7 separate regions of the Homo sapiens genome follow, and all the other regions are linked to region 1. The links are contacts of gene promoters, found by promoter capture Hi-C in blood cells and fetal thymus (Javierre and others, 2016). All regions are on one chromosome and are shown on one strand. Each heading gives the region's core, a stretch centred on a gene start or on the middle of the fragment in contact. The rest is flanking DNA. Distances are from core to core; before and after follow the strand shown. Region 1 holds the start of PTRHD1 (peptidyl-tRNA hydrolase domain containing 1). Region 2 overlaps ITSN2 (intersectin 2). Region 3 overlaps ITSN2 (intersectin 2). Region 4 has its middle 10 kb from the start of ITSN2. Region 5 has its middle 30 kb from the start of ITSN2. Region 6 overlaps LOC105374329 (a long non-coding RNA gene). Region 7 overlaps LOC105374329 (a long non-coding RNA gene).

Region 1 (3,424 bases), core at 460-2,959:
GCATGTTTCCACTACATAAAGTCACCAAACTTATTTTTAGTCTTAAAGTAACAATAAATCTTACCCCATATACTTTTATTATCTAAAGTCTCAGCTTAAGTCATCTTAGGCTGAATATAGTTACTTCTCTGTTATCAATGATAATGATGACCCAGAGAAAAATAGGATAACCAAATTCACTGACGCGCTCAGAAATTCTTTTTAAAACTGTAATTTAAGTTAGGTTTTATGGCAAGCTTTCCCAAAGTACTAACGTAGAACCCTTTGGATTTAGGCATCAGGCTTGAGTAAGTATTTCAAAGTTCTAAAAAGTATTAGTAGCAAAGAACATAAAGTCACACAAAACCAGAACTGTCCACAAATATTACTAGGCACTAAAGAAGAAAGCAACTTACTCCTGGACAGAAATTCAAACGCAAATCTCAGTTTCCAAAGGATTGACTAAGGACTAAGTAAAAGTAATAGTTTCGTAATTCTAAGCAACTCTAACAAGCATTCTTTAAACACCTTCTACATTTTAAGACACAAAGTATGTAAAGAATTAAGCCTTTCATTGAATATTTCCTATATATTAGACATGTGCTAAATGCTTCACTTGAAAAGTCTGAGTTCAATACTTTTCCACCACAAAAGAAATACTTTTTCCACAACCACAACTACAGTGCTATTTTCACCTCCATTTTCCAGATGAAGAAACAGAGGCAGAGAATAAAGTGACTTGCCTAAGGTCACAATATTTATCATGGCAGAGCCAACACTCAAAACCAGTTCTAGCCAACACTAAAGTCACTGCCCTACACTGGCCCTCCCTCAAGAGTAATGCATACATGGCCCAAAAAATCCGGGGAGAGGAAAGGGACCTCCCTGGCTAGAACCGCAGTTCAGAATATAAACACTGAGCATATGATGGATGCAACTTATCCGTTTCAAAAGGGGTGGGAGCCTAGAAACGAAGCCATTTTTCCTCCTCGAATAATCTTGGCTGCCTGTCCCTTTGTCTTCAATGTTAGTTCCTTTCACTATTCTGCTCCCAAACAGGCCAGGTCCCACGTCAGTTCCAGGAGGAAAGGGCTCTCTCAGCCTGCGGGTCATCTTTGGGCAGCAGCAGGAAGGAGGCGGCGACCCTCTGAATACCTCCTTTGGACTCGCCATCTGGACGTAAAGGGTTCGCCTGCTCCATCTCAGATTCCCAAGGGCCTTCCCATGAAGTTGTCTAGGCAACCGGTGATAGGGACTCCAATGTCCTTGCTAATAAAAGAAAAATGGCAACAGTCACATCACATCTAGTCCCATTCAAACCCAGACGGCAGGGCACACACCACTCAGGCACAACCCCTGGGCCGCGGATGACACAAATGTCACGGCTAGGATCCCCTTTCCTGAGCCGCCCGCCCTCTCCCATCGTCCGAGCCAGCAGAGTCCATGCCCACCCCCGCGCCCATCCCGCGGCCCCGGCGCGCTCCCGAGGCCACGGCTACTCTGGTCCAGCGGGCTTCCCGGCCACGGAAGGAGTTTTAAGAAGGCCGTTCAGCCCGCCACCCTGGCCACGGTCCGGTCCGACAATGGGTCTTTCCCCTACCTTCTCCCTTCTAGCTCACCCAGGCCAGAAGCGAGAATTCCCGCCATCCACGTCTTCAAAACCAAACCAACCGGTCCCGGCGTGCTTTGCGATCCTGCCGTACAAAAGCATGGCGGCGCTCAGGGCCCCGCCCTGATCCCAAGATGCACCGGGGAGTAGGTCCGGCCTTTCGGGTGGTCAGGAAGATGGCGGCCTCTGGGGCGGAGCCGCAGGTCCTGGTACAATACTTGGTGTTACGAAAGGATCTATCACAAGCTCCGTTCTCCTGGCCGGCGGGCGCACTGGTAGCGCAGGCTTGTCACGCGGCCACCGCGGCCTTGCACACTCACCGCGACCACCCGCACACAGCCGCTTACCTCCAAGAGCTGGGGCGCATGCGCAAAGTGGTCCTCGAGGTGAGGCACTCGGGCGGAGGGGGAGGTGCTGAGACATCGAGGGCGGAAGTGGGTGTGGTCTTCGGTCCGAAGGCCTGGCTGCGGGGAGTGGGTGCGGCGGGAGTTGGGGTGATCGTTAACATTTAGACTGGAGCTGTTTCCCTGGAGGTGCGCCCTTGGGAAGGGCCTGACTGTGTGAAGAGTGGACAGCAGTCCTCCGCCCCCTGCTGGGCTCGCGGTAAAGTGGTGGCTCCTGTGTCCCCGCTGTTCCGCCTGTGCACTGGCCGACTTTTTAAAGCCATGCCCCAAAGTGCTGTCCTCCTGCAAAACCGAGCCCGAAGGGACAGTGCAAAGTGAAGTCAAACTGAGTATTTACCTGGGTAGGACGCCAAATTATTTGAAAATAAATACTAAAAACGTTAGTATAAATTGAACCTAGCTTCAGCTAGACCAGGCACCAGGTGTGTAAATCGGTACACCTTTTAAAATAGCAGTCAGGTTCTGTTTGCAGATGACCAAACAAATCTCACCCTTACCCTTTGACTCTCTATCCTGCTGCTAGAGATGTAGCCTAAGAAAATAATCAGATGCACCCAAAGAGCTTTGCACAAGGATATTCATGGGAGCCCTTATGGTTTTGAAGCATATTTAGTGGTCGGGAAGAGTGCTCATGATGCGAAGCTAACTGAACTATATATACAGAATGATCCAGACTTTGAAAGGAAAAACTAAAGAAATACATCTACATATTAAGTAGTGCATGGTGAGATTTTGGTTATTTCCTAATGCTTAATCTGTATTTTTAAAATTTTCTACCTTAAGCACATATTTTATAATAAGGAAAAACGGCTTTAATAATAAACGGCTTTTTATAATAAGGAAAAACGGCTTTAAGCCAGAACTCAGGTGGAGGGGTGGAGTAATCCCTTCATGGGTAACTGACAAAGATAGATTATCTTTCAAGAGAAAAATTGCTGCTGGATAGTGAAACATCAAGCGGTAACCTGTAGGAAAAATGCCTTGAGAATCTGTGTAGGCAGAACAGAAGCTGCTGGCTTTTCACTTAGATTTTCTTCCTAGTAAGAGGTCTCAAGAAATCAGGTTAGACTCCTCTTGTCGCAGGTGAAACTCTCTGAAGCCTACAGGGATTAAGTGACTCCCCTGAGTTTAAAAGAGGGTCTCATGATTCTTAGTTGTTAGTCATGACTCAAGAAAGGGACTTAGGAGTCGCTACTGATTACATTGAGGTGCCGCTGTAGTCAGAAGGGCCAATAAAATATAAGAAAATACCAGGATTAACTACATTTATTGAGTGCTTAGTGTGTGCCAGGCACAGGTCCAAGCCTGATTTCATTGATCCCCATTAGGAAGCATTATTCCTGTTTTATAAAGGGACGAAGAGGCCAGCGAAGTCACCTAACTTATCCACGATCACACAGTCAGCAAGAGTTTGGAGTCCAGTAGTCTGATT
Region 2 (3,424 bases), core at 512-3,011, 460 kb after region 1:
AGTTATACCAAGAGATAAGAAACAATTAGCACTCCCTAATTTATGTATGTGATTGATGCTGTCCAGTGTGTTGGGAGTCATCTCTGGCTTGTTTTTCTTCTCCTGGACAAATGTGCTAACAGTAAGTTCTCCTGCTGTTTGTAGGAACCTGTGACGCATTATCTCCATTTAAGAGAGGAAGAGGCAGATAAAGCCCATGGGAAGTTCATGGGCTTAAGAATTAGACAGGCTTGGGATTGCATTCTGGCTTCATGACATACTGAATTTGGGCAAGTAATTTAACCTCTTCAGTTTCTTCTGTGAAATGAGTACAGTATCATCTGCCTTGTGGGGATATTGTGAGAGGAGTATCCATATTATCAAAGGTGCCTAGCAGTATCTGGCACCTGGTAGATAAGTCTACAAGCTTGTCAGTGTCTGAAGCTCCTTCTGCAGAACCTGAAACATTGGATTCTCAATGAATACTCAGCATGACACAGTACATCTACTGTGATCAACAGAAGTGTATTGAATTAATGGTAAACAGTAAATGTTAATTTATTAATTGCTTTTTGAAAAATGTAAAACAAAGTTTTTGGTATCTGTTGCATTTTCAAAATTTCAATTATAATTGTTAAGTACTACTCTGCAAATAGACTAGTAGAATTGTTAAGCATTAGGTAATTATTCCACAGTGGGGCAGAGAGAATAGAAATGTAATAGATATGAAATGATATGTTTTAAAAGCTTATTGGTTCCAACAAAATATACTCCCATATTTAGATGTTACCACAGTTAATCAGATGTTACATACAATATAAATGTTACATATAATATGGTACCTATGTGCATGGGTGGCTAAATTCCACATACCAGATGATAAAGATTCTGTAATACTAGTACCTTCAGCTTTACCCAAGGGATTTGCCCTTATTGCCAGTAATATTATTAATATTTAGTTCATTCTCAGGTTTTATTTCAGAATTATGCCTGTGATTACTGAGCATCTACTATTTGGCATTCTTTTTTTTTTTCCCAAGCCAAACTGTATCCAGCTTTATTAAAGATACTTTCCGTAAACAATCATGGTATTTCAGGCAGGACATGGGCAGACAATCATTGAGTATACAACAATTTTCCTTTTTTTTTGAGACGGAGTTTTGCCCTTGTTGCCCATGCTGGAGTGCAATGGCCTGATCTTGGCTCACTGCAACCTCCACCTCCTGGGTTCAAGCGATTCTCCTGCCGCAGCCACCCAAGTAGCTGGGATTACAGGCATGTGCCCCACGCCTGGCTAATTTTGTATTTTTAGTAGAGATGGGGTTTCACCATGTTGGTCAGGCTGGTCTTGAACTCCTGACTTCAGGTGATCTGCCTGCCTTGGCCTCCCAAAGTGCTGGGATTACAGGCATGAACCACTGCGCCTGGCCACAACAACTTTCAAACTCCCTTCTTGAAAGCCACTCTAAAACCCAATGAAGTCTTCATCTGATGCTGTGAACAGGGAAAGTTTAGAGTGAGGGTTGACATTTCACATTTAGCATATTGTTTAACAACTTTTCCCAGCCGACCCTGACTTTCAGGAAGTGAAATGAAAATGGCAGAATTTATCTGAAGAACCACTGCTCTTTTGACAGGTGCCGTCTCAGTGGCATCACTGGAAAGTCCAGATTGCCTGACACACTGGTAACTAATGATTGGGGGGTCAGGTCTCAACAGATGTCTGGGTTTAAGGGAGTTAAGTCTCTGCTGAAGGACGGAAAGGGAGAAGAGGACATAAAAACAAATTTGTTTTCCATACCACAAGGCTTTTGTGCCAAGGTGGCCATGTGTGTTAAAGTCAGGGAATCCCTCCTCCTGGGAGCCAAGAGGAACTCTCTCAAAACTAGAAGGGAAAGGTGTTTCCTCCACATTAGTCCAGCTTCGGAGACATTCTATTAGTGACATATGGCCCTTCCCCCAAAAACAACAATGAAGTGTTCTGTGTGCTAACAACATAGCTTAAAAAAAAAAAAAGTAGGCTGGGCACAGTGGCTCATGCCTGTAATCCCAGCACTTTGGGAGGCTGAGGCAGGTGGATCACCTGAGGTCAGGAGTTCAAGACCAGCCTGGCTAACATAGTGAAACCCCATTTCTACTAAAAATACAAAAAATTAGCCGGGCGTGATGATGCGCAACTGTAATCCCAGCTACTTGGGAAGCTGAGGCAGGAGAATTGCTTGAACCTGGGAGGCGGAGGTTGCAGTCAGCCAAGATCGCGCCATTGCATTCCAGCTTGAGCAACAAGAGCGAAACTCTGCCTTAAAAAAAAAAAAAAAAAAAAGTGGCCGGGTGCAGTGGCTCATGCCTATAATCTCAGCACTTTGGGAGGCTGAGGCAGGTGGATCACCTGAGGTCAGGAGTTCGAGACAAGCCTGACCAACATGGTGAAACGCCATCTCTGCTAAAAATACAAAAATTAGCCAGGTGTGGTGGCGCCTGCCTGTAATCCCAGCTACTCAGGAGGCTGAGGCAGGAGAATCGCGTGAACCCACGAGGTGGAGGTTGCAGTGAGCCAAGATCACGCCACTGCACTCCAGCCTGGGCGATAGAGCGAGAATTCATCTAAAAAAAAAAAAAAGTAAAATGAAATTCTGCATTTTTTATAAAACTTGATAAAAAATAGTATTTCAAACTACTGTCACCAGAAGTACACAGTTATAAAAAATACACACACTTCACTTGGCATCTCCAGCACTTTCAGCTTTCTGTGCCCCGTCTGTTTTAGCATCTCCATTTTCTGCAAGGTTATTCCCCTCCTTGCCAGCATAAGCTTTTCCCTTTTTCCCTTTGGGTACCTTCTCTCCCTTCTTTGCAGGGGCCTTTTCAGGCTTGGGCTCTGGCGTTGGAGGAGCAGGTTTAGCAGACAACCTCATGGGTCTTCTCTGTGGTTCGTTCTTCACCTTGGCTTTATCTCCTTTAGCATCCCCTTCACCCTTTCTCTTGGGCATGGTGGTGGCAACGGTGGCAGGAGGTAAGCACTTGGCACAGGATGCAGTGGCATGCAGGCTTTGGTCAGTCCGGGGTTCGTTCTCGCGTCTTCTTCTTCACGTTGCTCTCTATTTGGCATTCTTTTGTATTCACAGAATACGTGATGACGAACAAATGGTTCTAGACAGATGATTTGTAAGTTTTAGACCTAGATCCCAACTGATTAAGGCCTTGTGTCCATGGGATCCCATTCCTCGTTGGTTTTTCTGTTGTTAGAGCCATCTTTATAATTCACATGCTATTATGCAGAGTTAGAAAATGCATTATTTGCAATAGTGGGTTTTCTCCCATGTTTTAAAATGGTCTCAGCCACAGAAAACTAATGAATAAGGGCCCTTGCTACTGCATATCTGTTAAGTAGATAGTTTGTTTTTAGCCATGTAGCTTATTTTGGGTTAACATTACTTATGATTTA
Region 3 (3,424 bases), core at 234-2,733, 440 kb after region 1:
CCACTATGCCTGGCCTTTTTGTAATTTTTTAAAAATAGAGACAGGGTTTCACCATGCAGGCCAGGCTGGTCTGGAATTCCTGACCTCAGGTGATCCTCCCACCTCGGCCTCCTATAGTGCTGGGATTATAGGCATGAGCCACTGCACCCAGCCTGATGATAGTTTCTTTTGCTGTGCAGAAGCTCTTTAGTTTAATTAGATCCTATTTGTCAATTTTGGCTTTTGTTGCAATTGCTTTTGGCATTTTTGTCATGAAGTCTTTGCCCATGCCTATGTCCTGAATGGTATTGCCTAGGTTTTCTTCTAGGGTTTTATGGTTTTGGATTTTATATTTAAGTCTTTAATTCATCTCAAGTTAATTTTTGTATAAGGTGTAAGGAAGTGGTCCAGTTTCAGTTTTCTGCATATGGCTAGCCAATTTTCCCAGCACCATTTACAGAATAGGAGATCCTTTCCCCATTGCTTGTTTTTGTCTTGTTTGTTGAAGATCAGATGGTTGTAGATGTGTGGTGTTATTTCTGAGGTCTCTGTTCTGCTCCATTGGCTTATATGTCTGTTTTGGTACCAGTGCCATGCTGTTTTGGTTACTGTGTGCTGATTTTAAAGACAGGATTCCAAGTGTGAAGTAGAAAAATAAGAATGTTTATAATTAATTCTGTAAGTGGATAGATCTAAAGTTGAAGGTACATCAGAAATACTGTATTTTTTACTTGAGTTCATTTTTTGGATTTTGTAACATCCTACAGCTGTGGAGCGCAGAAACTAATGTTAGAGTTCTCTTGGGTAAAGTGTGAATATAGGTATTCTTGAGGAGGAGGAACTGAACTGGTCTTAAAGGATATGAGAGCAAAGAGGAAGTGGGAGAGGAAGGGAGGAAACTGAACAGAATTAGGACAGTTAATAGATCAAGAAATATGTATTTTCACAGCTCCAAGAGGGCAGCATATTTCATTTGCAGAATGTATAGTATTGTTTCAAAAGGTTCACTTAAAATATAATTTCATAGATACATCAGGACATTAAATGATTTATTTACTTGTGGAGCTATTCAGCAGTGGATTATGGCAGACATTTAGTGGATTAGGGGACTATTACCAGACGGTAAACATTTGTTTTATTTAACTGTTTCATATTTTTAAGATCATTTTCTTCACGAATGCGTATTCATTTTAGATAAAGTATATGTGATTTTAATAAAAATTTCATTTATTTTCATCATAACCATAGAGGATAAGAGTACAGCCTCTGAAGTTAGACCTGCTTCCAGCTCTGACACCAAATAACTGTATAATCTTGGGCAAGTTACTTTAATTCTCTTCAGCTTCTGTTTCCTTATGTGTGAAATGGGGAAATATTAGCTAGTTCCTAGTGTTGTTATATGTAATATAAAGTGCTTAGCACAGTGACTTCTGCTTAGTGTAAGTGCCTAATGTTACCTGTTGTTTTAACTTGGTTCAGTGAGAAATTTCAAACTAACCTAACATAGTTCTTATTTTGGTCTTTGTTTTACACCGTGACTGGAAAGGAAATTAGCCTTTTGCCCTTAATTTTTAATCTTACCATCGGAATAATCTATATAAGAAGGCTGAAAAGTAGGGTAGTACAGACCCACAATCCCACTGGGCTCAATTTCCAAATTTGTTTTTAACATTCTCAAGGGGCCTATGAAAATGTTTAGTGAAGCCTTCTTTAAAGTGTGGTTTATCTTGGGCCAGCCCCACAGTTGGTGATGGCCTTGGGCCTGAGACCCTTCCAGGATGGGCCTGGTGATGGTATCAGTGATAATGAGGTAACCATGATAACATGTAACAACTTGTAGTGTAGGGCTTGGCACTTAGTAAATATTGATGATTGATGGCTGCTGTTTTAATTTTCATAATAAATATGCACATTTATATCAAAATGTAAGTTTTAAATTGTAAGAACATAAGCAGTTTCCATGTTATTATGTGGTCTAACTGAACTTGATCACAAAATAGCTTTATTGAGATTTAATTCACATATCATATGAATTTGATTTTAAGTGGAAGCATGATACTTGGCTTAGTATATTCCTTTATTTTTGGACATTCATTTTTAGTTTTTTTCAATGATTACTAATGCTGCCATATCTTTGTAATTAAAGCATTTCCCACATTTACTGTTATTTCCTTATGACAGATTCCCAGAAATGAAATTATTGCTTTATAGGATATGAATGTTGGTGGGACTCTTGATATATGTTTTCACAGTGCCTTCTGAAGAGTGATACCAATACGTATTCCCATGGGCTGTACCTGCAAGCACCCTATTTAATTCACCTTTGCTAGCCCTGGGTATTGGCCAGTGTTTTGTTTTGTTTTGTCTTTGAGACAGGGTCTGGCTCTGTTGCCCAGGCTGGAGTGCAGTGGCGGGATCTCAGCTCACTGCCATCTCAGCTCACTGCAACCTCCTTCTCCTGGGCTCAAGCCATCCTCCCACCTCAGCCTCCCGCTGGGACCAACTAATTTTTTTGTAGTTTTTATTGAGGCAGGTTTACACCATGTTTCCCAGGCTGGCCTCAAACTCCTGAGTTCAGACGATTCGCCCCCACTCAGCCTCCCAAAGTGCTGGGATTACAGGCATGAGCCACTGTGGGTAGCCTCGTTTTCTTAATTATTAGTGATGTTAACATTTATTAACTACTTTTATTTCTTCTGTTTCTTCTTTCGTAGATTATTTATTTGAGGTCTTAGTGTTTTCGTTATCTATTTTAATAGCCCTATGTACATTAAAAATATCAACTGCTTATCATGTGTTGTGATTTTTCCCCATTTACCTTTTAAGTTTGTTTTCAAGGAAGTTTTAAATATTTGTTATATAGATGATATAGAATCTGCTTATTCTTTCTTTTGTTTTCTTGTATGGCTTCAAAACTTAAAAGTTGTCTTTGTTTCAAAGAGGTGATGTTTTACTTGAAAGTGAAGCATCTGTCTGAATTTCTTTCCCTCTGTACTTTTTATTCATGTCAAGTAAATAGTTTTGCTGTAATATTTAGTTCTGATATGAGACAGATGACAATAGGCTAAATATTATCAGTCCCCCTGGGACCCCTTATAGGAATGCAGGCTGAGTCACAAGCTATTCTTAGGTATTTTTATCCCCCTTTGTGTGGGTGAATTGTCTTGTTCAGAGTTGTTGACTATTCTTCAAAAATTGGTTTGATTTAAATCTTCAATAGAATTTGAGTACTAACCACTTCAGTATTAGTTTGCTATTCCTGTCCTTTTATGTCTCCTGGCTTATTGGTTGATTTTTTTGAAGGCTAAACTCAATATTTATAAAAATCTGAGCTTATAATTTGTGTTTAAAAATCTAAACTGAGGTTGCTAAATTGCAGAACTAGAATTAAGAACTAAGTTTGTATAGAGAAGTTATCCTCTTTGAGGCTTTTAGGTCTTAATGC
Region 4 (3,424 bases), core at 384-2,883, 420 kb after region 1:
CTCCCTTGAGATGGTCACAAAGTAGTTGACACTTGGCTGTAGCTTTCTCGGTTGCCGCCTTACCCACCTAGAGTTTCCATGATAGGAACCCAAGTCTACACAGTCTACTCTACATCCTGGGTTCTAATGAACACCCAAAAAGGGTGCTGCAAAAGGGGCACCCAAAAAAGCAAAGTAAGCACATTCTCCTGGGCCTGGCCAAGCAAGGGCAGGCCTAGAGCATACCTGTCTGCACATTTGCATACACACACACACACACATAGTTATTTAGAAATAATTCCACATTTTTATAAAAAATGTGTTGAGGGCCGGGCGCGGTGGCTCACGCCCGTAATCCCAACACTTTGGGAGGCCAAGGCTGATGGATCACGAGGTCAGGAGATTGAGACCATCCTGGCTAACACGGTGAAACCCCGTCTCTACTAAAATTACAAAAAATTAGCTGGGTGTGGTGGCAGGTGCCTGTAGTCCCAGCTACTTGGGAGGCTGAGGCAGGAGAATGGCTTGAACCCGAGAGGTGGAGCTTGCAGTGAGCTGACATGTGCCACTGCACTTCAGCCTGGGCGACAGAGCAAGACTCTGTCTCAAAAAAAAACAAAAACAAAAAACAATGTGTTGAACTGGGCGCAGTGGCTCACATCTGTAATCCCAGCACTTTGGGAGCCCGAGGCGGGCGGATCACAAGGTCAAGAGATCGAGGCCATCCTGGCCAACATGGTGAAACCCTGTCTCTACTAAAAATACAAAAATTAGCTGGGCGTGGTGGCACATGCCTGTAGTCCTAGCTACTCAGGAGGCTGAGGCAGGAGAATCACTCGAACCTGGGAGGGAGAGGTTGCAGTGAGCCAAGACTGCGCCACTGCATTCCAGCCTGGTGACAGAGTGAGACTCTATCTCAAAAAAAAAAAAAAAAAAGTGTTGAAATAGTTATCAAGCAATTTTTTTGTTTTTGTTTTTGGGTTTTGAGACAACGTCTTGCTCTGTTGCCCAGGCTGGAGTTCAGTGACATGATCCTGACCCATTGCAACCTTGAATTTCTGGGCTCAAGCCATCCTCCTGCCTCAGCCTCCCAAGTAGCTGGGACTACAGACACACATCACTACACCTGGCTAAGTTATTTCATGTTTTTCTTTTTATTTAATTTCATACATGGGTGTTTCAGCGTTTAGGGCTTCTAAACACTGAATCCAATCTTGATGATACCAATTCCAGTATTTTTACAACTTGTTTGTTTTTGAGACAGGGTCTGGCTCTGTCCGTCAGGCTGGAGTTGCAGTGGTGTGATCACTGCTCACTGCAACCTCCGCCTCCTGAGCTCAAACCATCCTCCTACCTCATCCTTCCAGGTGGCTGGGACTACAGGCACATGCCATCACGTCCAGCTAATTTTTTTTTTTTTTTGTAGCGATGGGATTTCACCATGTTGTCCAGGCTGGTCTTGAATTCCTGTGCTCAAGTGATCCACCTGCCTTGGCCTCCCAAAGTGCTAGGATTACAGGTGTGAGCCACTGTGCCCAGCCTTTTACAGTTTTTAAATTAGAATCACATGATGTTCATGTTCATTAGGCAATTTATATTTGTGTATTCTAAATTTCAACATGTCTCAGCCATGGGATACATTCCTGACTCATTTAAGAAGCTATGAAAAGCGTTCATCAGACACCAAAATAGCTCTTAAAGTTAATTATACTTAGAGTCAGGATTTTGTGCCAAACACTCAATACCCAACCATTAATTATTATTTTCTAAATATTGAGAGTGTAGTATAAGCTGATAAGTACATGTCAAAACCTGGTCCCTGCCCCAAGGCTTACCCTATAAATGACAAAACTGAATCCATTTAGACTACACACTACATCAAATTAAAAGCAAGGCTAACTTGAAAGGCACAAAGTTCAAGGTCCTTTCTTTTTCTTTTTTTTTTTTTTGAGACAGAGTCTCCCTCTGTTGCCCAGGCTGGAGTGCAGTGCCGCGATCTCGGCTCACTGCAACCTCCGCCTCCCAGGTTCAAGTGATTCTCCTGCCTCAGCCTCCCAAGTAGCTGGGATTACAGGCAGCCACCACCACGCCTGGCTAATTTTTGTATTTTTCGTAGAAATGGAGTTTCACCATATTGGCCAGGCTGATCTTGAACTCCCAACCTCAGGTAATCCACCCGCCTCGGTCTCCCAAAGTGCTGGGATTACAGGCACGAGCTAGTGCACCCGGCCAGTTCTTTCTGTAAATCCCTAAGAAGTTACTATAATTCTAACCAGAATTTTTTGATTTGAAGGTAGAATTTTATATTTTTAATCTTCTAACAATGACATTGCTGCTGTTCCAGGAAAGAACATTGAACTTAAGAAGACAATGCTAGAGTTGTAATACAATTTCAGTTACGCTCTCCTGTTGTTCCAAATGACAAAATCCAATAGTAAAAGAAAGCCCTTTGCTATCACCTAGATTCTTCCTAAGCATCTAAAGGAAGTAAAATATATCAATCCATCTTAGCTGGGTGTGGTGGCATGTACCTGTAGTCCCAGTTACTCGGGAGGCTGAGGCAGAAGAATTGCTTGAACCCGGGAGGTGGAGGTTGCAGTGAGCCGAGATCGCACCACTGCACTCCAGCCCGGGCGACAGAGCGAGACTCCATCTCAAAAAAAAAAGAGTGATCTGCCAGGCGTGATGGCTCATGCCTGTAATCCCAGCACTTTGGGGGGCTGGCAGGAGGGTTGCTAGAGTACAGGAGTTTTAGACCAGCCTGGGCAACATGTAGAAAAAAAAAATTAGCCAGGCATGGTGGCACTCACCTGCAGTCCCAGCTACTTGGGAGGCTAAGTTGGGGGAGGATCACTTGAGTGTGGGAGGTTGAGACTGCTGTGAGCCATGATCTCACGACTGTACTTGAGGCTGGGTGACAGAATGAGATGGTGTCTCAAAAAAAAAAAAAAAATTATCTGTGCTCCACTATACATCCCACCCTCTCTCTATTGAGAAGATGAAGCACAAGTGCAGAGGTGAGACAGAGAGGGTCCCTGGACAGTGTTCAGTCCCTAATTCCATTTTGCCTGGCCCCACTCCTGTCCTTGGTGACACTGGCACACTCCACTTACCTTGTATATAATTAATTCTTTTTTTGCCTAAGCCCTTTGAGTTGATCCCCGTTATTTGCAACCAAACATTTTAACTGATACAAATACCTGGTCACTTACATACGAAATTAAGAGTTTTATGTTTCCCTATACAAAGGCATAAGAAAAGCACCTGCTGAAATTATTGAAATGGGAAGTGAGGCTTATTCCTTTTTGAAACACATGAAAAAAAAATCTCACCACAGTGAGCCTTTGGCTTAAGGAAGCTTTGTTCAGTAGATTTCACTGAAGGAGCTGTTCTTTGCAAGGCTTTGATCACTGTCTTTGCCCAGAATAACTTTATTTTGAATGTA
Region 5 (3,424 bases), core at 372-2,871, 400 kb after region 1:
TTTTTTTTTGAGACAGAGTCTTACTTTGTTGCCTACCCAGGCTAGAGTACAGTGGTGTGATCTCAGCTCACTGCAACCTCTGCCTCCCAGGTTCAAGCGATTCTCCTGCCTCAGCCTCCTGTGTAGCTGGGACTACAGGTGTGCACCACAACACCTGGCTAATTTTTTATATTTTTGGCAGGGACAGGGTTTTGCCATGTTGGCCAGGCTGGTCTCGAACTCCTGACCTCAAGTGATCCACCTGCCGCAGCCTCCCAAAGTGCTGGGATTACAGGCACGAACCACCGGCCCCGGCCAGAACTCCTTTTTCAAAGACAGATGGACCTTCTTTCCCACTCCAGCAGAAGACTGACTGTGTGTTAAGAAACTTACAGCATCTAAACATAGGGATACCAGGCATAGCTGAAGGCAATAGGAATTATCAACATTCAGAGGGGTATCACCATTATATTGCTAAGTTTAAGGTTGAACTAGTAATTATTACATAGAAAACTGCTAAAACAACCCACAGGGCAATTATTAATTCTAATATGAATAAAAATTTATCTTATCAGTATTATATTACTTGGCTTAACATTGAGCAAGTGTTATATAGTGAGATAATATAAACAGTATAAATATTGATATAAACAAAAATGTACTACAAATATATTGGGAGTATGAAGAGAGGGAAGGAGGTTTTAAGTGTGCTAAATTTTGTGACTCCATAATAGAACGTCAATAGATAACATATAAATAAAAATATGAGAGGTCAAGCATGGTGGTTCATGCCTGTAATCCCAACACTTTGGAAGGCCGAGGCAGGAGGATCACCTGAGCCCAGGAGTTAGAAACCAGCCTGTTCAACATAGTGAGACCCTGTCTTTACAAAAGAAAAATTAAAAATTAGCTAGGCATAGTGGTGCACAATTGCAGTCCCAGCTACTCAGGAGGTTGAGGTGGGAAGATCACTTGAACCCAGGAGTTCAAGGCCGCAGTGAACCATGATCACGCCACTGCCCTCCAGCCTGTGCAACAGAGAGTGATCCTGTCTCAAAAAAAAAAGTGTGTGTGTATATATGAATATACATATATATGTACATATGAAAATTATGTGTGTATATCTATATATATGAATATTTTTAGAAATATTTTTAGAAAAGTAGATGTAAATAGAAGAAACAGCTGAAAGAATTAAAAGTTTTTCTTCCTGAGGGGCAGGTTTCAGGGTGGAAATGGTGGTATAGTGTTCTACTATTGTCATTACAAGCTTTGTCATTGTGTTAGACTTTTTAAAATTATGTGTATATCTCACTTTGACAAAAATTATTATTATTATTTTTTAGAGACAGGGTCTCACCCAGGCTGGAGGGCAATGGCATGATCATGGCTCACTGCAACTTTGACCTCCTAGGCTCAAGGGGTCCTCCTCCCTCAGCCTCCCAAGTAGCTGGGATCACAGGTGCATGCCACCATATCCAGCGAATTTCTTATTTTTTGTAGAGATGATGTCTGTCTACATTGCCCAGGCTGGTCTCAAACTCCTGGGCCCAAGTGATTTTCCTGCCTCCACCTACCAAAGTGCTGGGATTACAGGCATGAGCCACTGCACCCAACTGGCAAAACTAAAATTGACATTTAAACAAAAGAAGAAAGGGATATATGTATTGCCTACTTAAAACAACAAACAAACAAACCCTTTTGGAGAAATGTGACAGAATCCAAAACTTCTACAAGGTATCTTTTACAATATCCAAGGTACAATCTGAAATTACTAGACATAAAAATGAAATGTGACCCCAGTACTCAAGAGTCTGATGCTGACATGCATCAAATGTTGAGTTATAACAAAGACTTTAAAGCAGCTATTAAAATTGTGCCAAACAGAGTACATATATAAAGGAAAATATTACTCATAATTAATGAAAGAAAATACAAGCAGAGAAATAAAAACTATAGTAACCAAATGTAAATTATACAATTGAAAAGTTTAATATCTGAAATTTAAAGCTTTACTGGACAGGCTTAGAAGCAGATTGAAGGTGACAGGAGAAAAAAGTCAGAAAACTTGATGAGAAATCAATAAAAATTACTCAATCTAAGTAACAGACAGAAAATGGATGGGAGAGGGCGGGAATGAATAGACTCTCAGGAAACTGAGGGGAAATAGCAAAAGAGCTAAAATATGTGTAACTGGAGTCTCAGAAGTAAGGAAGAGAATATGGGACAGAAAAATTATTTTGAAGAAAAAGAGGTTGAAATTTTCTAAATAGGTTGAAAGATAAATTTATAGATTTAAGAAGCTAAGTAACCCTCTCCCCACCAAAAAAAAAAATATGAAGAAAACCATACCTGCACACAGTATAGTCAAAATGCTGAAAACCAAAGATAAAGAGAAAATCTTGAAAGCCAGAGAAAACAACTCACTATATGCAGGGAATGATGATACAAATGAATGCTGTTTCTTCTTATAAATAATAGATATCAGAAGACAGTGAAACAATATCTTCAAGTATAGGATCAGAAAAAAGTAAATCAATCCAGAATTCTATAGCCAGCAAAACATCCTTTAAGAATGAAGGCAGCCGGGTGTGGTAGCTCACGCCTGTAACCCAGCACTTTAGGAGGCCGAGGCAGGTGGATCACCTGAGGTCAGGAGTTTGAGACCAGCCTGGCCAACATGGTGAAACCCCGTCTATACTAAAAATATAAAAATTAGCTGGGCATGGTGGCAGGTGCCTGTAATCCCAGCTACTCGGGAGGCTGAGGCAGGAGAATCACTTGAACCCGGGAGACAGAGGTTTCAGTGAGCCAAGATAGCGCCACTGCAGTCCAGCCTGAGCGACACAGCAAGACTCCGTCTCAAAAAAAAAAAAAAAAAGAAGGCAAAATGAAAAGAAAAGGAGGGGAACATCACTAATCATTAGGGGATTGCAAATCAAAACTACAGTGAGATACCACTTCACACTATTAGGATGGCTACTCTAAACAAAACAAACTCCAGGATTGGACATAGTGGCTCAAGCCAGTAATCCTAGCATTTTGGGAGGCTGCAGCAGGCAGATCCCTTGAGCTCAGGAGTTTGAGACCAGCCTGAACAACATGGCTAAACTCCATCTCATTTTTAAAACTATATAAATAAATAAACTCCAGAAAATAGCAAGCATTGTCGAGGATGTGGAGAAATTGGAATCCTTGTGCACTGTTGGTGGGAATGTGAAATGGTGAAGCTGCTGCAGAAAACAGTTACGGTGGTTCCTCAAAAATTAAAAATGGGGCTGGGCACGGTGGCTCATGCCTGTAATGCCAACACTTTGGGAGGCTGAGGTGGGCCGATCACTTGAGGCCAGGAGTTCAAGTCCAGCCTGGCCAACATGGCAAAACCCCATCTCTACCAAAAATACAAAAATTAGCTGGGCATGATGGCACATGCCTATAATCCCAG
Region 6 (3,424 bases), core at 478-2,977, 380 kb after region 1:
TTAATGAAAAAACTAATATTAGTCTCTTCAAAATAAATTCTATATTGACTTTAAAGATAAGGAGAGGATGGCTGGGCGAGGTGGCTGCCACCTGTAATCCTAGCACTTTGGGAGGCTGAGGCGGGAGGATCACAAGGTCAGGAGTTCGAGAGCAGCCTGGCCAACAGAGTTAAACCCCGTCTCTACTAAAGATACAAAAAATAGCCAGGCATGGTGGTGCGTGCCTGTAGTCCCAACTACTTGGGAGGCTGAAGCAGGAGAATTGCTTGAACTCAGGAGGCGGAGGTTGTAGTGAGCTGAGATAGCACCACTGCACTCCAGCCTGGCAACAGAACGAGACTCTGTCTCAAAAAAAAAAAGATAACGAGAGGATGAAGTTGATCTATACTTACTGGTATGCAATAAACTCCAGACATATTAATTAAAAACTCAAGGTGCAGAATAGTATGTGTAGTATATACCTTTTAAGCAAAGGCAAATGATGACATATACTTATTCATATATATATGTTTGTATATGCATATATCTAGAAGTACACACACAAACAGTGGTTACCTCCAGGGAGGGAGCCTGGAAACCAAAGAGTAAGAGGACTTACTTTTTACTGTATGTGTGTGTATATATATATATATATATCTGTGTGTGTGTGTGTGTGTATATATATGTATATGTGTATATATATGTATATGTATATTATATATATATATATACACACACACACACACACACACACTTTTTTTTTTTTTTGAGGCAGTTTCGCTCTTGCTGCCCAGGCTGGAGTGCAATGGCGCGACCTTGGCTCACTGCAATCTCCGCCTCCCAGGTTCAAGCGATTCTCCTGCCTCAGCCTCCCAAGTAGCTGGGATTACAGGCATGCACCACCACCTCGGCTAATTTTGTACTTTTAGTAGAGACAAGGTTTCTCCATGTTGGTCAGGCTGGTCTTGAAATCCCGACCTCAGGTGATCCGCCCACCTCGGCCTCCCAAAGTGCTGAGATTACAGGCGTGAGCCACCGCGCCTGGCCTATATACATACACTTTTATTCTATTTGGATTTTCTTCCCATGGTAGGCATTATTTTTTCGAGTATAATAAAACCTAAGCCTAGCATAATTTCAGCACTTTGGGAGGCCAAGGCAGGTAGATCACCTGAAGTCAGGAGTTCAAGACCAGCCTGGCCAACATGGTGAAACCCTGTCTCTACTAAAAATACAAAATTAGCAGGGCATGATGGCGCACGCCTGTAATCCCAGCTACTTGGGAGTCTGAGGGAGGAGAATCGCTTGAGCCCGGTAGATGGTTGCAGTGAGCCGAGATCGGGCCATTGCATTCCAGCCTCGGCAACAAAGCAAGACTCCATCTTAAATAAAAAATAAAAAAAAAACTAAACTAAAAAAGTGTGTGTTGGGGAGGATATACAAACACATATACCCTTGGCCCAAAAACTTTACGTCTAGACATTTACTGCAAAAATATATTTACCCAAGTGCAGAATGACATATGTACAAGATTGTTTATTGTAGCATTGTTTTCAAGAGCCAAAGATACAAAGCAACTGAAATGTCCATCAACAGACATTAATGAAATCATGCTATTATGAAATTGTGGGATACTCAGACGCTACCAAAAAGAATGAAGAAGCTCTTTATGTACTACATGCAAGTACATCCAAGATATCTTCAGTGAAAAGAGCAAGGCTCAGAAGGTCCATACACCAGTGTTGAGGCAAAGGGGGAATATAATACATTGTTTGCTTAAATATGCATAAAGTCACTCTGGGAGGCTACATCAAAAGCATGAAATGGATTAGCTCTGGGGAAGAGAATTGGGCACCTGGGAAACAGGAGCGGGAAGGAAAGTTTTCACAAACATTTATTTGTACCCTTTGAGCTTTCAGCCATGCGAACAAATTTCCTATTAAAAATAAAACATGGCCAGGCATGGTGGCTCCCATCTGTAATCCTGGTACTTTGGAGACCAAAGTGGGAGGATTACTTGAGGCCAAGAGTTCAAGACCAGCCTGGGCAACATAGGAAGACCCTGCCTCTACAAAATCTAAAAAAAAAAAAAAAAATTAGGCCAGGCCCAGTGGCTCATGCCTATAATCCCAACACTGTGGGAGGCTGAGGCGGGCGATCATTTGAGGTCAGGAGTTCGAGACCAGCCTAACCAACATGATGAAAACTCATCTCTACTAAAAATACAAAAAAATTAGCTGGACGTGGTGGTGTATGCCTGTAATCCCAGCAACTCGGGAGGCTGAGACAGGAGAATCACTTGAACCCAGGAGGCGGAGGTTGCAGTGAGCCAAGATTGTGCCACTGCACTCCAGCCTGGGCGACAGAGCGAGAGACTCTGTCTCAAAAACAAAAACAAAAAAATTAGCTGACTGTATGGCACACACCTGCAGTCCCAGCTACTTGAGAGATTGAGGCAGGAGGATTGTTTGAGCATAGGAGTTAGAGCAATGAGCTACAATTGTGCTACTGCACTCCAGCCTGTGTGACAGAATGAGATCCTGTCTCTTGAATAAGTAAATAAATAAATAAAACAGACCACCAGGTTTCCCTGATGTAGTACCACTGTGATACAAGACACAGGTGTTCACTTACGATAATAATCTTTCTTTAGCATAATCAACGTACTATTTACCACCATAAAGAAGCAGAGTTTGACTTACAGTTTCAATTGTGCATGAAAATAAATGACCTGTTTAAGGGGATAAACAGATGTATAAACTGATTGGCCACCTGTGTTACAATGGCATCATCATGGCCAGTCACAAAAGATTTCTCACCCTTTGACAAGAATGTGGACCCCTGGGGTGGAGTGTGGCAAAGGTCACTGTGGAGAAGGCCAGAGGCACTGACTTAGGAACAAAGCCTTTCTGAAATGGACAATGTCTTCACAGTGTCCTCCAATTCCAGGCACAAATGGCCCTCAGCCAAGCCCAGAGATTGCAGTCACACAGCCAGGTCAATCTATCGTGCCCGTCTTAGTCCATTTTGTGCTGCTATAAGGGAATACCAGCGACTAGGCAACTTATAAAGAAAAGAAATTTATTCTTCACAGTTCTGAAGGCTAGGAAGTCCAATATCAAGGTGTCAGCATCTTGCAAGGGCCTTCTTGCTGAGTCATCCCATGACAGAAGGTGAGAGGGAAAGAGAAAGATGCTTAAACAAAGCAGCAAATTTACTTGATTATGTAACTGAAAAGTCTGGAAATAGGGCTTGCTGCTATCTTGGCTTAAAGGTTGAAATGTATCACGAGGGTCTGCTTCTCTCTCTCTCTCCCTCTCTCTCTCTCACCTCTGTTCTCAGACTGGCTCCCACTGAAGATGTCAAGATGGCTGCAGCAACTTTGGGCCTCACATTCCCTCAGGTAAAAATCTAGCAGGACAGAGAAAGAATCTTTCCCTCAGAA
Region 7 (3,424 bases), core at 659-3,158, 360 kb after region 1:
TAATTTTATGTTTTTCCTTACAATAAGAGAAATATATAATCTTCATAGAAAGCTTAGAAAACGTAGATAAACCAAAAATTAAAATCATCCATAATCACCATAATCACAGCATCTAGTTCATAGGCTTTTTTTAATTAAAAAACAAAACAAAACAAAACAAAACAAAACAAAAAAACAAAAACAGAGATGGGGTTGTGCTATGTTGCCCAGGCTGGATTCAAACTCCTGGGCTGTGCTCAGCTTCCTGAGTAGTTGGGACTACAGGCGTACACCAGTGCACCCAGCTCTAGGCTTTTTGAAAATCATTAAAAGTTTATATTATTTTCAGTTGACCCTTACATACAAGTAGCTTTATCAGGAGCAAATGTCTCTGGTACCTTTAAGGAGAGGCATTTCAGGCAGGACAATGTGGTAGGAAGAACGTAAGATCTGGAAGCCAAAGATCTAGGATCAAGTTCTGTTTCAGTCATTACCAGCTGTTTGATCTTCCATAAATCAGGGAACTTCCTTGGGTTTCACTTCCTCATTTGCAAAATGCTGGGGGTCCAGTGATCCACTTAGATGTCTGTTCTGAGTCTGGACTTCAAAAATCAAACATTGTAAACTTGGAACAGTTAGGGCCAGGCACAGTGGCTCACGCCTATAATCCTAGCACTTTGGGAAGCCAAGGTGGGTGGATCACCTGAGGTCAGGAGTTCGAGACCAGCCTGGCCAACGTGGCGAAACCCTGTCTCTACTAAAAATACAACAATTAGCTAGACGCACGTCCTGTTGGCGCGTGCCTGTAATCCCACCTACTCAGGAGGCTGAGGCAGGAGAATTACTTGAACCCGGAAGGTGGAGGTTGTAGTGAGCTAATATTGCGCCATTGCATTGCAGCCTGGGCAACAAGAGCGAAACTCCATCTCAAAAAAAAAAAAAAAAGAAAGAAAGAAAGAAAAAGAAAAGAAAAGAAAAAACTTGGAACAGTTAATTAAAACAAAACAAAACAATATGTGATGTTTTTAAAGGAATGTAACAGCATGTTAAAATAGGGCTTTTCCTTTCTCAGAGTTTTGGCTGAGGCTTCAAAACTGAGAACAATAGGTTTCAGTCCCTCCTCCACATCCTAAGTGAGGTACAAGACTGTCCAGGCAGGACTTGCAAAGAGAGTGGCCTTGTGCCAGTTCTGCCATGGTTAGACCTTCACCCATCTCCAGGCTTCCTAAGAGAAGGGACAGAGAGGCTGCGTTCTGATATCAGTGGAAAAAGTTCTTGAGTGGAAGGCTGGTGGGTGGCAGTAGAGCAAAGCCAGGGGACCCAGAAGGAACAAGCCACACTTGCAGAAACAGTGGGGAAGTTTGTGCCAGGGGGACATGAGGAAGAAAGCTGGACTTGAGTCATCTTACAGACCCTATCTAAGAGGACCTTCTGGATGATTCCAACATAAGAAACACTATGCGGGATGGTCAACTGGAATTCAAGTCATAAAGGGGAGAATGGAAGAGCCTAGCTAAAATGGGCACTGTCCAAGTCAAGGGAATGCTTAGTAGGAGGGCCAAAGGAGGAAGGGTCTCTAAACAAATTCTCAAAAGCACCTCACTAGAGAAATACCCGTTAGATCTGCTACTTACCAAGGGTGCTGTGATTACAACTCAAGAGCCACTGAAGGCCTCTGTTTATTTAATCCCCTCTCTCCTGGGCCCAGCTAATGCAAGAGGAGGAGAAACAAAGAGAAGACAATGACTGGAACCCCCTTCTTCCCTATATGCTTGCAAGCCTAAGTTTGCTCACACTAGTGACAGGGAGAACTTTAATTTGGATAAGAAATTAAAATTTTGATATTTGATTGGACTGAACTTTTCAATACCTGATGATAAACGGAAAACCATGGGTAGGGGCTGGGTGCCATGTCTCACGCCTGTAATCCCAGCACTTTGGGAGGCCGAGGTGGGCAGATCACTTGGGCCGTGGAGTTGGAGACCAGCCTGAGTAAAATGAGGAAACCCTGTCTTTACAAAAAAATACAAAAATTAGCTGGGTGTGGTGGTGCATGCCTGTGGTCCCAGCTACTTGGGAGGTTGAGGTGAGAGGCTCAGCAGAGCCTAGGAGGTCAAAGCTACAGTGAGTCATGATTGCACCACTGCACTCCAGCCTGCATGACAGAGCGAGACCCTGTCTCAAAAGAAAAAAGAGACAACCATGGATGGGTAGGGAAGAAAGATTTGAGAGAGTAGGGACATTCTTTCTCAATCCATTTTGTGCTACTCTAACAGAGCATCTGAAACAATAATTACTAAAGAGCAGAGATTTATTTCTTACAGTTCTGGAGGCTACTAAGTCCAAGGGGCCCACATTGATCAGATAACCTTCTTCTTTCTTTCTTTTTTTGAGACAGAGTCTCACTCTGCCACCCAGGCTGGAGTGCAGTGGCGCAATCTGCAATTCTCCAGGCTCAGTCGAGTAGCTGGACTTACAGGCCCCTGCTACCACACCCGGCTAATTTTTGTATTTTTTAGTAGAGATGGGGTTTCACCATATTGGTCAGGCTGATCTTGAACTCCTGACCTTGTGATCCACCCAACTCAGCCTCCCAAAGTGCTGGGATTACAGGCATGAGCCATCACACCCAGTCTCTTGCTTTTTTTTTTTTTTTTTTTTGAGACTGGGTCTTGCTCTGTTGCCCAGGCTGGAGTGCAGTGGTGCAATAATGGCTCACTGTGGCCTGGACCTCCGGGGCTCAAGCAATTCTTCCACCTCAGCCTCCACAGTAGCTCGGACTACAAGCACATGCCACCACACTCAGCTAATTTTTTTATTTTTTGTAGAGATGAGGTCTCACTATTGTTGCCCAAGCTGCTCTCAAACTCCTGGGCTAAGAGATCCTCCCACCTCATCCTCCCAAAGTGCTGGGATTACAGGTGTGAACCAACACATCCAGCCTACCAGGGACCTTCTTGCCGCATCATCCCATGGCAAAAGGTGGAAGGGCAAGACAGCATGGACCCATGCATGCACATGAAAGAGAGGAAGAGAGGGAAGGAGAGAGAGAGGAGAGGGGAGAAGGAGGCAATGAGGGGAGGGGAGAGGGCTGAAATCATCCCTTTATCAGGAACCAACTCTGGCAGTAACAAACCCACTCCCTCAGTAATGACCTTAAACCATCAGTGAAAACAGAGCCCTCATGACCTAATCACGGCTTAAAGATCCCACCTCTCAACACCATTGCATTGGGGATTAAATTTCCAACATATGAATTTCGGGGGACACATTCAAACCACAGCATAGTTATAAGATAGGACAAGTGCTTTCTGTTTGAGCCATCCCAAATCCATCTTGTTTAATATACTGGTTACAGGGGAATAACTTTGGGGAGTTGGGGAAGGATTGATTGCAAACGGGAGAGACTAGCATCTATTGTCTAGATATTAGACAAGGAGGCACT

Evidence for each region. Contacts are between HindIII fragments. The CHiCAGO score rates a contact against its expected background, and 5 or more counts as called.
Region 2: a contact is called between a fragment that was not itself captured here and the fragment with the promoter of PTRHD1 in region 1, in 1 of 17 cell types (monocytes). The highest score is 5.2, in monocytes.
Region 3: a fragment that was not itself captured here is called in contact with the fragment with the promoter of PTRHD1 in region 1 in 2 of 17 cell types (monocytes and neutrophils); the score reaches 5.7 in monocytes.
Region 4: a fragment that was not itself captured here is called in contact with the fragment with the promoter of PTRHD1 in region 1 in 3 of 17 cell types (neutrophils, fetal thymus and monocytes); the score reaches 9.2 in neutrophils.
Region 5: a fragment that was not itself captured here is called in contact with the fragment with the promoter of PTRHD1 in region 1 in 6 of 17 cell types (megakaryocytes, M0 macrophages, endothelial precursors and 3 more); the score reaches 7.7 in megakaryocytes.
Region 6: a fragment that was not itself captured here is called in contact with the fragment with the promoter of PTRHD1 in region 1 in 13 of 17 cell types (megakaryocytes, endothelial precursors, M0 macrophages and 10 more); the score reaches 13.7 in megakaryocytes.
Region 7: a contact is called between a fragment that was not itself captured here and the fragment with the promoter of PTRHD1 in region 1, in 5 of 17 cell types (endothelial precursors, megakaryocytes, neutrophils and 2 more). The highest score is 10.0, in endothelial precursors.

What each region holds. Positions count from the first base shown.
Region 1 is chr2:24,791,676-24,795,099 of GRCh38, reverse strand. PTRHD1 (peptidyl-tRNA hydrolase domain containing 1) reads left to right here and starts at 1,709. Exons shown (of 2, transcript NM_001013663.2): 1 at 1,709-1,974. The coding sequence starts at 1,723. It overlaps CENPO (centromere protein O), which reads right to left and starts at 1,675. Exons shown (of 8, transcript NM_001322101.2): 1 at 1,599-1,675; 2 at 1,135-1,248. The coding sequence starts at 1,180. It overlaps LOC105369164 (a long non-coding RNA gene), which reads left to right and starts at 2,025. Exons shown (of 3, transcript XR_939843.4): 1 at 2,025-2,333; 2 at 2,516-2,716; 3 at 3,321-3,424. RefSeq lists an enhancer at 1,619-2,048. The HindIII fragment of the contact is 6,911 bases long and covers 239-3,424 here.
Region 2 is chr2:24,329,947-24,333,370 of GRCh38, reverse strand. The region is part of intron 1 of ITSN2 (intersectin 2); the gene reads left to right. It also overlaps the pseudogene HMGN2P20. Among named protein-coding and RNA genes, the nearest start is that of ITSN2, 29 kb to the left of the region's middle. RefSeq lists an enhancer at 3,408-3,424. The HindIII fragment of the contact is 2,065 bases long and covers 729-2,793 here.
Region 3 is chr2:24,352,512-24,355,935 of GRCh38, reverse strand. The region is part of intron 1 of ITSN2 (intersectin 2); the gene reads left to right. Among named protein-coding and RNA genes, the nearest start is that of ITSN2, 6.3 kb to the left of the region's middle. The HindIII fragment of the contact is 8,462 bases long and covers 1-3,424 here.
Region 4 is chr2:24,368,978-24,372,401 of GRCh38, reverse strand. No RefSeq gene overlaps it. Among named protein-coding and RNA genes, the nearest start is that of ITSN2, 10 kb to the right of the region's middle. The HindIII fragment of the contact is 3,412 bases long and covers 1-3,339 here.
Region 5 is chr2:24,389,061-24,392,484 of GRCh38, reverse strand. No RefSeq gene overlaps it. Among named protein-coding and RNA genes, the nearest start is that of ITSN2, 30 kb to the right of the region's middle. The HindIII fragment of the contact is 740 bases long and covers 1,252-1,991 here.
Region 6 is chr2:24,411,392-24,414,815 of GRCh38, reverse strand. The region is part of intron 2 of LOC105374329 (a long non-coding RNA gene); the gene reads right to left. Among named protein-coding and RNA genes, the nearest start is that of ITSN2, 53 kb to the right of the region's middle. The HindIII fragment of the contact is 3,558 bases long and covers 1-3,424 here.
Region 7 is chr2:24,430,019-24,433,442 of GRCh38, reverse strand. All of the region lies in intron 2 of LOC105374329 (a long non-coding RNA gene), which reads right to left. Among named protein-coding and RNA genes, the nearest start is that of NCOA1, 60 kb to the left of the region's middle. The HindIII fragment of the contact is 3,708 bases long and covers 55-3,424 here.